Linked DNA regions of Homo sapiens: all the other regions are linked to region 1. The links are contacts of gene promoters, found by promoter capture Hi-C in human tissues and cell types (Jung and others, 2019). All regions are on one chromosome and are shown on one strand. Each heading gives the region's core, a stretch centred on a gene start or on the middle of the fragment in contact. The rest is flanking DNA. Distances are from core to core; before and after follow the strand shown.

The links. The method cuts DNA at HindIII sites, captures the fragments that hold promoters and counts their contacts. A contact is called where the count stands out against the background at its distance.
Region 2: a contact is called between a fragment that was not itself captured here and the fragment with the promoter of DOCK5 in region 1, in 1 of the 25 tissues and cell types used here (lymphoblastoid cells).
Region 3: a fragment that was not itself captured here is called in contact with the fragment with the promoter of DOCK5 in region 1 in 1 of the 25 tissues and cell types used here (lymphoblastoid cells).

The regions. Positions count from the first base shown.
Region 1 is chr8:25,183,365-25,187,436 of GRCh38, reverse strand. DOCK5 (dedicator of cytokinesis 5) reads right to left here and starts at 2,748. Exons shown (of 52, transcript NM_024940.8): 1 at 2,486-2,748. The coding sequence starts at 2,528. LOC124901912 (a long non-coding RNA gene) reads left to right here and starts at 3,060. Exons shown (of 2, transcript XR_007060861.1): 1 at 3,060-4,072. RefSeq lists silencers at 2,451-2,500, 2,671-2,840, 2,851-2,930. The HindIII fragment of the contact is 16,568 bases long and covers 1-4,072 here.
Region 2 is chr8:25,926,272-25,930,343 of GRCh38, reverse strand. The region is part of intron 6 of EBF2 (EBF transcription factor 2); the gene reads left to right. Among named protein-coding and RNA genes, the nearest start is that of EBF2, 120 kb to the left of the region's middle. The HindIII fragment of the contact is 5,568 bases long and covers 1-4,072 here.
Region 3 is chr8:25,903,189-25,907,260 of GRCh38, reverse strand. The region is part of intron 7 of EBF2 (EBF transcription factor 2); the gene reads left to right. Among named protein-coding and RNA genes, the nearest start is that of EBF2, 140 kb to the left of the region's middle. The HindIII fragment of the contact is 3,511 bases long and covers 253-3,763 here.

The sequences.
Region 1 (4,072 bases), core at 1,499-3,998:
CCTAACACCTAGGCCCTGGAAATGCAATCCAAATATTTTACACACACACACACACACACACACACACACACAATTTCCACCCATATTTCCATATACATATATATATACACACACACACATATACGCATATATACATATATATGTATATACATATATACATATATGTGTGTGTATACGTGTGTGTGTGTGTGTATATATATATATACGTATATATATGTATATATAGTTTTTTTTTTGAGATCGGGTCTCACAGTATCACCCAGGCTGGAGTGCAGTGTCGTGATGGGGGCTCGGTGCACCCTCAACCTCCCAGGCTCAAGCTATCCTCCCACCTCAGCCTCCTCAGTAGCTAGAACCACAGGCACAGGCGACCATGCCCGGCTAAATTTTTTTCGTATTTATTGTAAAGACCCGTTTGCCATGTTGCTATGCTAGTTTTGAACTCCTGGGCTCAAGCAATCCTCCTGCCTCTGCCACCCAAATTGTTGGGATTACAGACGTGAGCCATCGCACCTGGCCCAAATATTTTTCTTGACTGATAAGTGACACAGTAAACTGACTCCAGAACATAAAAACAAAATATTAAAAACAATTATACTTGCTCCTAGGACTATGGCAATAAAAACCACATTTTTGAAACATGTTTGCATTAATTACCCTCAACTGAATAGTTTTGAAAAGAGCTTTTAATCCTGATAAAATTAGAGTTGATAACATTTCTGTAGTGATTGGGCATTGTAAATATGCTTTCATCTAGGGGCCAGGTGAGGTGGCTCATGACTGTAATCCCAACACTTTGGGAGGCCGAGGCAGGCGGATCACCTGAGGTCAGGAGTTTGAGACCAGCCTGGCCCAGATGGCGAAACCTGGTTTCTACTAAAAATACAAAAATTAGTCAGGTGTAGTGATGCAAGCCCGTAATCCCAGCTACTCGGGGAGGGGGGCTGAGACAGGAGAATTGCTGGAACCTAGAGGTGGAGCTTGCAGTGAGCCGAGATTGCGCCACTGCACTCCGGCCTGGGCGACAGAGTGAGACTCCCTCGTCAGTCCGTCTCAAAAACAAACAAACCAAAAAAAAAAAAAAAAAGAGCCCTGAGGCAGAAGCAACATCTCTACCCATTTCTGAGATGCAGCTAAGGGAGAGACTAAGATTCTAAAAGCAACTTAAGAGCAAAAAAGAAAATGTCTTTTGAATTGAGGGAAAACAAAAAATAATAAATATATAAAGGATCACAACCTAAGAATAATATAGTAAATATGAGACTGTTAAAAAACAAAACAAACAACAACAAAAAACCCTGACTCCTGGCTACAGAGTTGAAAAGCCCCTAGACACGTTGAGTAGCTCTTAATTGAGACTGCACTTCATTAACCAGTGAGGTGAGGAAAAACAGGACCTCAGTAAGGGAGTAAAGTCAAAGACTAAATTACAAACAGGCCAAATGAATGGATCTGAGAGGAAGTGATAAAATTCGCAACACACTCAGCCGTGTTTATTGTAGGGAATCACCCCAGGTCTAACTGCCATTGTAATCACCCCGTTCAGGGCAGAAGTCTTCCCACAGGCCCTCAATAACTTCAATCCTTGATAAAAAGCCAAAGGAGCCTGACTTTCCACCTGGGTCAAAATCCCCGCACATCTATTGTTTCGGAGCCAAAGCACCACCACCAGCAACCCCTGCGCACAACCCGGGGCTCTCCAGCACCGCTGTTCTGAATGCCAAGTGCCCAGCACGGGGTCTGGCACAGTTTCCTTAATAAAATGTCCTCTTCTCGTCTCCAGGATGAAACTCAGGATCCGGAAGGCAGCCTTACACCCTCTCCAGACAGGCTCCGTTAGGGGATGAGTGCGCACAAACAGCCCCAGGGGCCAGCCACCCCCTTCCCGTGCCACAACTTCCTGTCCCTTCCATCACTTCCACGCCACGACTCTAGTTTCCATCCAGCTCACAACTGTCATCAAGATCCCAGTCTCTGGAGGAAAGGGGGCAGGGCGGCTTTCCACCCTCAACTCCTCACTTAAGGGGCGTCTGAGAAGAACCTACGAAAGCGGGGGGCAGAAAGCACTGGGACAATGAGCACCAGTCCATGTGCCGACCCGGGCTGGTCACCTACTCCCAGGTGAAACCCACGCTGGGCGCACCGGGGCGAGCCACAGAGCTGCGGCCCCAAAAGAGCAGCAGGCGCGCCCCCCTCGCGTTGACATTTCCCTGGTGTGAAGTGCCGGAGATTGGGATGCAAGAGCGGGATTACGGTCCCGAAGCTCAGCTGCACTTGGAAGCACTCGGAGTCCCCAAACCCTGGGCGACTTCCCCATCGGCGCTCCCTGGAGAGGACTCCTACCGTCCCCGGCTCCCAGAGCTGCGCAGCCGGGCCGAGCCCCCGGCCAGGGTCCTCCGCCGGGCTCTGCGCAAACCTGGCAGGGCCGCTGTCCGCGAACTTGGCCGCGTGGGTCGGGCCGGGACAAGGTGGGGCGCGCACTCACCAACCCCGTACTTCTGCCTCTTGGTCGGGATCCAGCGGGCCATGGCGGCGACCTCGCCCCGCGGCGGCGGCGACTAAGGCTGCTACAGCTCCTCGGGCTCCGGCCGCCGCCGCCCCGCGCTCCTGCGTGCCCCAGACGCTTCCGCCATGTTCCGCCAAACTTCGCTGGACTCCGCGGGCCGCCTCCTCGCCGCGCCGCCCGCGCCCGTGCCCGTGCCCGCGCCGCCCGCGGTCACCTGCTGGGCCGGGCTGCAGCGCAGCAGTGCGCGCCCCTCCTGGCGCCGCCCCAGTCCCTCCCGCCGGCCGCACCCTCCGCCCGCCGGGGCCGCCTCCGAGCCGCGGGCGCCCGGCCTCTCCCGCCCGCGCCGCTCTCTGCGCTCTGCCGGGCGGGGGCCGACTGCGGCTCCGCCTCGCGCGCTTCCCTGGAGCGGCTTCCTGGGCCGGCGGGACTTTGACGCTGGCGGCACTTTGCCTTTCTCCCGCCCTCCCCACCCGGCTGATACCCCGGAGGCTGGGTCCCGGGGGTCCGGCTCCCGACAGAGGGCTGCGCTGGAGGAGCCGGGCACGCCCAGGCCGGGCGGCCGGTGGGCGAGGGATGCGGGCTGCGCTCCCACGGCGCGCGCCGGACACTTGGGGAGCGGAAACGGATCAGCGAGAGCGGCTTCTTGCTCGGGGCACCTCCGGTGCCTGGCACTAAGCGGGCGCGCAATAAATATTTGTTGAATGAATGAGCAGTTGACTTCTGCCTTCACCCCCTGGAGCTTGAACCCGCGCCGCGAGCGGGAGAAGCCGGACTCAGGGCAGACTGAATCTCCCGGGGCCACCGCTTAGAGCCTGGAAAGCAGAACTTTTATCACCGGAGAGCTGGTGCAAGGGAGGTGGGCTCCTCAGAAGTATCAGACCGTTTGCTAGGGGATCCTCTGCAGGGAAATTGTTTAGAAAGCCCTAATTTGGAAGTCCTGTATCCCCAAACTCCGGGGACCCCCCAACCTTAAGCTGAAGAAACTTAGACCCTCATGCCCAGACCTCCCTTTCCCAACCAGCCAGCAGCCCAGAGAGCATTCCCGTGGAGAAAGGGCCAAGGCGCATCCCCGTCTTTTCTCCGTCAACGACTGCCTTTTCTTGACGAAGATCCCAAAGGGGCTGCGCATTTGAACCGCCTTGGGCTCCAGGTGGCGCCCTCTCTGGAGCTCCCCTCTTGGAATTCATTTCTTCCTGGAGAGACTTGGAGAATGAAGATCCAGGGGTTTCTCCCTACCTTGTACCGAGAAGTAACATTGCAAGTAGAGTAAATGACCAGCTTAATTACGTTCACCTTCGAAGAAGATTCCTCTAGAGAGAAATTATATCCTCCTTGCAGCCTGTGAAGGTTTTCATGCGTTTTAGGAATATAAAAGAAAGGAAGACAAACATGTAGTAAAGATAGTAAAGACAGGTAGTTGGCCAGGCGTGGTGGCTCATGCCTGTAATCTCAGCACTTTGGGAGGCCGAGGCGGGTGGATCACCTGAGGTCACGAGTTCCAGACCAGCCTGGCCAACATGGTGAAACCCCTTCTCTACTAAAATACAAAAGTTAGCCAGACGTGCT
Region 2 (4,072 bases), core at 725-3,224, 740 kb before region 1:
TATGAAGTAACGAACTCTACTTCAGATCTTCCAGAACTGTTTTTCCTACACTACTTGAGACAGTGCAGGTGACCATAAGATTACCAGCCAGCTTCCTCAAGTGTCCTCATTTAGTTGCGAAGGAGATAGCTAAGTCCCAAATGAGTAGTATGGTCAAGAAGTATACCTGATTCTGGATGAGCCCTGGAGATGTAACCTGAATAAAGCCAGAAGTCCATGTGTCCCTGCCACAACGTGATGTCACACCCAAACATTTCAGCAGCTGAAAGTAATTGAAAGCGGTTCTAGTTTTTCTCTGCATTTTTCAAAGAACATTGAAGTAATTATAGAAAATTCACTTCATAAGATACTGCCTCATTATTTTGTTCTCCATTCGGCTCCCGCATCAGCCACCCTAAAGTCTATAACCCTCATTCTCCATTGTCCTTCCCCAGGTCTCCCCCTTACTTTTTCCCTTCTGTTTTTCCCCCTCTCTTGTGTGTAAACCTTAGCCCTTTCTACCCCATTTCCACCATTTTCCCACTGATACCCGGATCTGTGCCAGGCCGGCGAGCTCAGTGATGGGGAAGTAGGTGTGTGAAGAACAAGACTGTGAAGACTCAACCAGGATCAACATGACCTTACTCATGTGTGTTTAGACGTCCCAAGGAGGGAGTCATTGTGGACCAAAGGATCCTGACTTACAAGGGAGATAGCATTTGTGTGTGCTCTGAAAGAGGAATAGAACTTAGAAGATTTTTTTTAAGCACACATGTTTATTAAGGAAGATTTCAAAAGTGGAAAAAAAAAGTACCCGATAGGAAGAAATGAAGGCACATAGTGAAAAAATCTTGAAATAGAGAAGCTCCTTGCCTTAAAAACAGAGTAAGCCCACAATAAAAAGCCTCGTCGAGTGTCTGCTCTCAATAAGCATCGTACTAAGTGCTCTAAGTCACCATAGACCCTGACAAAATGTTTTCAGAAGGAAAAAATTTGCACTGATTACTTCTCTCTCTAACAGGAGTTGGATTAGGACAGTGTGTTTTAAACAAGCAAACTGTGGAGCCAGGATGCCCTGTTCACATCCCGTCTCCACCATCTGGTAGCTGTGTGACCTTGTGAAAGTTCCTTAACCTCAGTTTCCTTGTCTGTGTAAGACAGGGATATTGATGCGATAATATCTCACAGGACTGTCGTGAGTATTTAAATGAATCAACATGAGCAGATCACTGCTCAACACTGAGGAAGCATTAATTGTATTCTTCACTCTTATTAGTTGTAATATTACTTTCCATTGAAATCTGTCTGCATAGTTCTTTTTGAACTGATTATAATAATATAATACAACTCCTGGTTATTGAGTGTGGAGATAGAGGCATCTCACTGCGTCAGCACTTAATACATGAGATTTTGTTTAATCCTCGAAAGCATTCTGCATGTTAGAGCCCTCCTGTGTAGCAAGTAGGAACTCCTTGCTGGTCTGTTTGTAGTTTGGCCAAGCCTGGTCCACTTCCTGGTGGAAAGAGGTGTCCTCTAGTTCCTTTCTCCTCTCCATTTCCCTGGTTTTTTTTTTTTTTTTTTTCATTTAAAAATCATTTTATTATTAATCATTATCCCATGTAGCCTAGTGCCTGACATGTATAAGGAATGTTGGTAAATACTTCATTTAAAGCTTCTTTGTACATATTTCCATTGTTAAACTCTGAATTCACATAAAAAGTTAAACTTAATAACTCATATTTCCTTCTCTTGTAACAGGCACGTATTGGTAGAATATAAATATTCTTGGGCTCTGGCTTCGTTCTAAGTGAAGACAGTAATTGATCACATGGTACAGCTATTGACAATAAAACCAAGAAATTGTCAGCTGGTGTCCTGGCATGGACTAGTGCTGAGGTGGGAAATAGAAAATTCACATTTGGTTTCTGGGCCAAGTTGGGGCAGGAATGGTCGTGGGGAGAAGAGGACAGGGAATGAGTCAGATGGGAGCATATGAAAGATCTGCATGGGTTCTCTTGCTGTCTCTTGCAGCTAACCCAGATAAGCCTTAAGTTTATGAAGACCAGGTTTCTAAGAGGTTCTTCAATTCCTGCAGCATGTGGAAATCCAGCGTGTGCACCTTAGATGGCAACAGTCTAAAGAGAGTGGGTACATGTCTCAGGAATCCACACTAGCTGTACTTCTAATTTTTTTCAGTATGAATTCAACCTAAAAAAAACCTTTTACTCTTACCAGATTCTAATTTATTCCTTTTCCCTTTTAATTAGGGGAAACCCATTTCTGACAGATTCGCAAAGTTTTGGCTACCTTTGTGTGGAGGATAGGAGAGGAGACAAGCCGTGTTCCTTATCTGATGGACTTTTTTATAATATATATATTTCTATTTTAATCAAGTGGAGTAAATACATTCTGGGCTTTTCCTGAGGCAATGTGGGCCAGGTTTTATTCATGACAGGGCTTTCTTATTAGAGTTATGAAATCCTTGTAGAAAAGTCGGGGATTTCTCAGAGAAGATTTTTAAAAAATGCAAAACTTGACACACTTTAATTATTTCTGCACTATAATAACAATATTATATAAACCCCACACTGTTTAGGACTTAAGTTCCAACTGAGTACATTTTAGCATGATATATACAAATAAGAGTGTTCTAAGGCCATAGCCAAGCCAATCACAGGACTCCTCTGCCATCCTCTCCCCTGTCCCCTCTTCTAACACTCAGAGGGAAGCTCCTGTGAGGTTTAATGTGCACCAGGAACTCCAGCAGGAGTTGCCCACCCTAGCAGAAAGGACCACATTATTTGGTGGTTTTACGTTCTTTTGTGTTTTCAAGTTTCTATAGTGATAGAAGTTCTCTCTAGAGTGGAAATTTCCTGTTGGTCCTTGAATCAGCCAGGGTTCTCCAGAGAAAAGGACCAATAGGAAATGTATATATATCATGTATATTATATATGATATATAATATACATGATGTGTATATAATATATATAACATACACGATAGTATTATATATAAATATATATGATATCTAGATATATAAATACATGATATCTAGATATATACAAGATAAGGAATTGGCTTATTGTAGGGTGGGGTGGGGTGGGAGATGGCAAGTCTGAAATTCATAAGACAGGCCAGCAGGCTGGAAACCCTGGCAGAAGTCAATGCTCCAGTTTTGAGGCAGAATTTTTTTTTTCTCCAGGAAACTTCAGTTTTTGCCATTGAGGCCTTCAACTGATTGGATGAGACCCATCCACATTATCAAGGGTAATCCCTCTACTTAGAGTCAACCAGTTTGTAGATGTACCTTCAGTGTAACACCTAGATTAGTGTTGGATTAAGTAACTGGGTGCTAGAACCCAGCCATGTTGACAAGAACTAACCATCACAATCCTGAAACTCTCTTTCATCTACGGAATCCTTGGACTTCTGAATCCTCTTGCTGGCCCGGAAAAGATCATGTGGACCTCCTCCTTCATTCCAGGGGGATAATCTGATCTGTTGGAGATCCTTTGCTCAGATCTTCAGGGCAGTTTGGTGAATTTACGTTGCCTCAAAGGTGATGAATAGAACTCTCGAATGTACTTTCAAAGTCTTGCTGAGAAATCAACTCCTGTCTGTGTTGAATGGTAGTAAAATCTCTTAGGAAAGAGCCTGGGAATGTGGAGAGGACTCATGCTTCTGGGAGTTTTTATGCCTGGACTTTGACAAAGTGGAACATATGGAGGAATCAATGAGTGTCATAGAGATGGGATCAATATGCAGACTTTCTGGACTAAATGGACACCCTCAGTACTGCACACTGTGAGTCAGAGAAGGTGATGCATACAGACAAAGATACATCCACATTGTCGAAGTATAAAACCGATGTCCAGCTCACAGAGGCAAGAGTCTTCACCTTTCTGAGCTATTTCCTTAGAGACTTGATCATCATCTCATCTAAGCAATAGTTTATTATTTCTTAGCCAACTTGGGAAGATTATTAGAAAGGTGGGGGTGAGAGGAGACACATCCCAGGCCCGACACAATGTTTCCAAAATACTCTCTTTTCCCAATGGCACCAGTGAAAGTGGGGGAGCCAGCCTGCCTTGGA
Region 3 (4,072 bases), core at 759-3,258, 720 kb before region 1:
TTTTGGTAGAGATGGGGTTTTGCCATGTTGCCCAGGTTGGTCTCAAACCCCTGACCTCAGGTGATTCACCCACCTAGGCCTCTCAAAGTGCTGGGGTTACAGGTGTGAGCTACCACATCGGACCCTGAATAATTTTTGAACAAGGAATGTGACATTCATTTTTTATTGAACCCTACAAATTATGTAGCTGGTCCTGCTGGAGAGCTTCTGTGGTTAGGCCACAATCAGACAGATGTTTAGGAGCAGAGCCATTCAAGAGTTAACAGGAAGATGGCCATACACAAGGGCTACTGAGAGTTACTTTGAAAAAAAAACTAGTAGTAGTATTTTTTAACCCCATCATGGCTATCAATCTTGCTGTGACAGGAACATTTTTCATTACAATACTTAACACTATTACCAGCCTCCCTTTAAAAAGTTGGAGACTTTTTCTCTCTTGGGCAGGCTGTTTCCCTGCCTTTTTTTGTTTGTTTGTTTGTTTGTTTGTTTGTTTTGAGATGGAGTCTCGCTCTGTCACCCAGGCTGGAGTGCAATGGTATGATCTTGGCTCACTGCAACCTCCTCCTCCTGGGTTCAAGCAATTCTCCTGCCTCACCCTCCTGAGTAGCTGGGACTACAGGCACATGCCACCACGCCTGGCTAATTTTTGTATTTTTAGTAGAGATGAGGTTTTGACATGTTGGCCAGGCTGGTCTGAAACTCCAGACCTCAAGTGATCCACCCGACTCAGCCTTCTAAATTGCTGGGATTACAGGTGTGAGCCACCGCTTCTGGGCCTACTTTCTTGTATGAAGAAAAACAGAAATAAAACCAGCCTTCTTGGGGGATCAAACAGGAACTTCGTGCATGGTGGAAATTCACTGTGCTCAATATTCCAAATAAAAATGTAAATAATTTCAGTCCAAAGAAGAGTAAAATTCAAAAGAATTCCAAAGTGCCTCCATGACCAAAGCTTAGCTTTATTTCTAGAAGATACAGAGGCAGAGAAAAGAGAGTTGGCAGTTTGGATTTTTATTCCATCCTACTTTCTACCAGCACTTTCAAAGAGTTTTAAATTTGAGAATTTGAGGATACTCTTGTAAATGTGAAGAGGCTTCCATTGTAGGAGAATGCCTTGTCATTTTCTTTCTCCCAAAGTTTAGGAATATATTCACAAAGCAAATGCATGCTAATATTTCCTCTACTTCTTTAGTTATTTACTTAAATGGGGTTTTCATGGTGCCTGAGTTTTTCATTGGCATAGAATAAATATTGTTGATCTCAAAATGATATAGAATTCTCATCCTATGTGAAAGTATTTGACTTTTGCAAAGACAAGGGCAAAAAGAATTGTTTAGACTTTGTGGATTCTCTGATTGTCTTATTTCAAGGGTAGAGCTAAAGTCAACTGGCAATTTGTTTGCATTTTTTACTGAGATAAAATTCATATAACATACAATTCACCATTTTAACCATTTAAAAGTGCAGGGTCCAGTGGTTTTTAGTACATTCAAAGTGTTGTACAACCAGCACCACTATCTAATTCCAGAACTTTTCTATTATCCCAAGAAGAAATCTCATGTCTCCCAGTTCCTGTTTCTCCCCATTCACTGGCAACCACTAATCTACTTTCTGTCTCTATAGGTTTGTCTATTCTGGGAATTTAACATAAATAGAATCATACAATATGTGGCTTTTGTGTCTGTTTTTGTCTGTTAGCATAATGTTTTTAAAGTTCCTCTATGTGATAGCATGTATCAATACTTCATTCCTTTTTACAGCTTGACTATTCCATTGTATGGATATATCACATTTTAAAATTCATTAGTCAGTTAGTGGACGTTTGGATTGTCTCACTTTTTGGCTATTACAAACAATGACACTGTTAGTATTTGTGCACAGTTTCACTGTGTGACATATGTTTTTAATTCTCTTGGGTATACAACTAAGAACAGAATTTCTGGGTCATATGGTAATTGTTTCTTTAAGTTTTTGAGGAACTGCCAAACTGTTTTCCATAGTGGTTGCACCATTTTACATTTCCACTGGTAATCTGTGAAGGTGTCAATTCCTCGCCAACACTTGGGATTTTCTGTTTTAAAAAAATTCTAGTCATCCTATGGGTGTGAAGAGGTATCTCATTGTGGTTTTGATTTGCATTTCCTTAATGATTAGTGATTTTGAGCATCTTTTCATGTGCTTATTGCTCATTTGTATATCTTCTTTGAGGAAGTGTCTATTTAAATCCTTTGCCCATTTTTTAGTTGCATTATTTGTCATTTTATTGTTGAGCTGTAAGAGTTCTTTATATATTCAGGATACTGGCTCCTTCTCAAACATGTGATTTGAAAATATTTTCTCCTATTCCATGAGTTGTCATTCACTTTCTTGATAGTGTCCTTTGGTGCACAAAAGAATTGGCAATTTTTATACTGTACTTAGATTCTACTAAGAATATAACCTTCAATGAAAGCTCTCTCATAGAGAAGGTTATTATGAAGACAGGCTTAGCAATATGCTATCATAGTCAAGTAAGAAACTTAGTTCAGGTTCCAAATATGAAACAAAACCAGAGAGAGTGCATACTCATGGTGGTAGGACAGTCATCTGAATGGATGGTGACTTTCAGAAATTCCTAGAGTATGTATCTCACTCAGAAGGACAAAGACAATCATTTAGAGCCATATACACAATTCCTTCAATTCTCTACTTTTGTGATATGATCAAACATAAATTTAATATGAAGGATTCTTTCGTGAGGATTTGATCTGAATGGAATAGAAATATGAAAAATTTCTACCCAAATCCTGAACTCTATAAAACTCTCCCCCCTCCTTCCCTTACCCCCAAACACTGGTGGAACCTGGATTCTTTTTACAAAAATCATCCAATCAGACCAAAATTGTTACATCAAGGTTATTTTCAAGCTTGAACCAATCCTCTCTTTAATTTCATTCAAGTCCTAAGTATTATAGGACATAAAAAATACTGAAACACAAAGGGTTTTAACCCTTTTAACCCTTTTTAACCTTTTTTTTTTTTTTTTGGCCCAGACCCCTTTAAGAATCTGGTAAAAGCTATAGTCTGTATCCCATTGAAATACTACGTTTAAAGTTTTAATTAAAATTTCAGGGGTCTCCAGACCACTTGAAATATCTCAAGCTTCCATGGACCTCTAGTCTAAAGAAATGGAATTCATTTAAAGCCCAATAGGCATCCTTCATGTAAGGTAACCTTTAACAGTGGGGATCTGTCCACTTAGGACTTTTCCTGGTGATCTCTCATCCACTCTCTTGGCTTCAAATGCTCTCTGTTCCTGGATGATTTCTGTATCCATATTCTCAGACTTCTTTAGAGCTGCAGGCATATAATGCTAGCTTCCTTCTGGGCATCTTCCCTGGATGACTAATGAGCACGTGTTCAAAACAGAACTCACTGCTTGTTCCCTGATTCATTCCCTCCTCTTTCATTGTCAAAGTGTCGCTGCCTCCTCCTAAGTATCTATTAAATCCACCTCTCTCCTCAAAAGCTGCCACAGCCCCTGTCTTTTTTTTTCTGTTTTTGTTTGTTTGTTTGTTTGTTTTTGAGACGGAGTCTCGCTCTGTCGCCCAGGCTGGAGTGCAGTGGCGCGATCTCGGCTCACTGCAAACTCCGCCTCCCGGATTCACGCCATTCTCCTGCCTCAGCCTCCAGAGTAGCTGGGATTACAGGCACTTGCCACCACGCCTGGCTATTTTTTTTTGTATTTTTAGTAGAAACGGGGTTTCACCGTGTTAGCCAGGATGGTCTCGATTTCCTGACCTCGTGATCCACCCGCCTGGGCCTCCCAAAGTGCTGGGATTACAGGCGTGAGCCACCGCGCCCGGCTGTAGCCCCTGTCTTTATTCCTCCCCTGTCTAACCCGTCCTCAGCATGAATGCCAGAGTTACCTCTTAAAATATGTCAGGGTGCTAGGCACAGTGGCTCATGCCTGTAATCCCAGCTCTTAGGAAGGCAGAGGCAGGAGGACAACTTGAGCCCAGGAGTTTGAGACCTGCTTGGGGAATGTAGTGAGACCTTGTTCTCCACAAAAAGGAAAAAAAAAAAAAAAAAA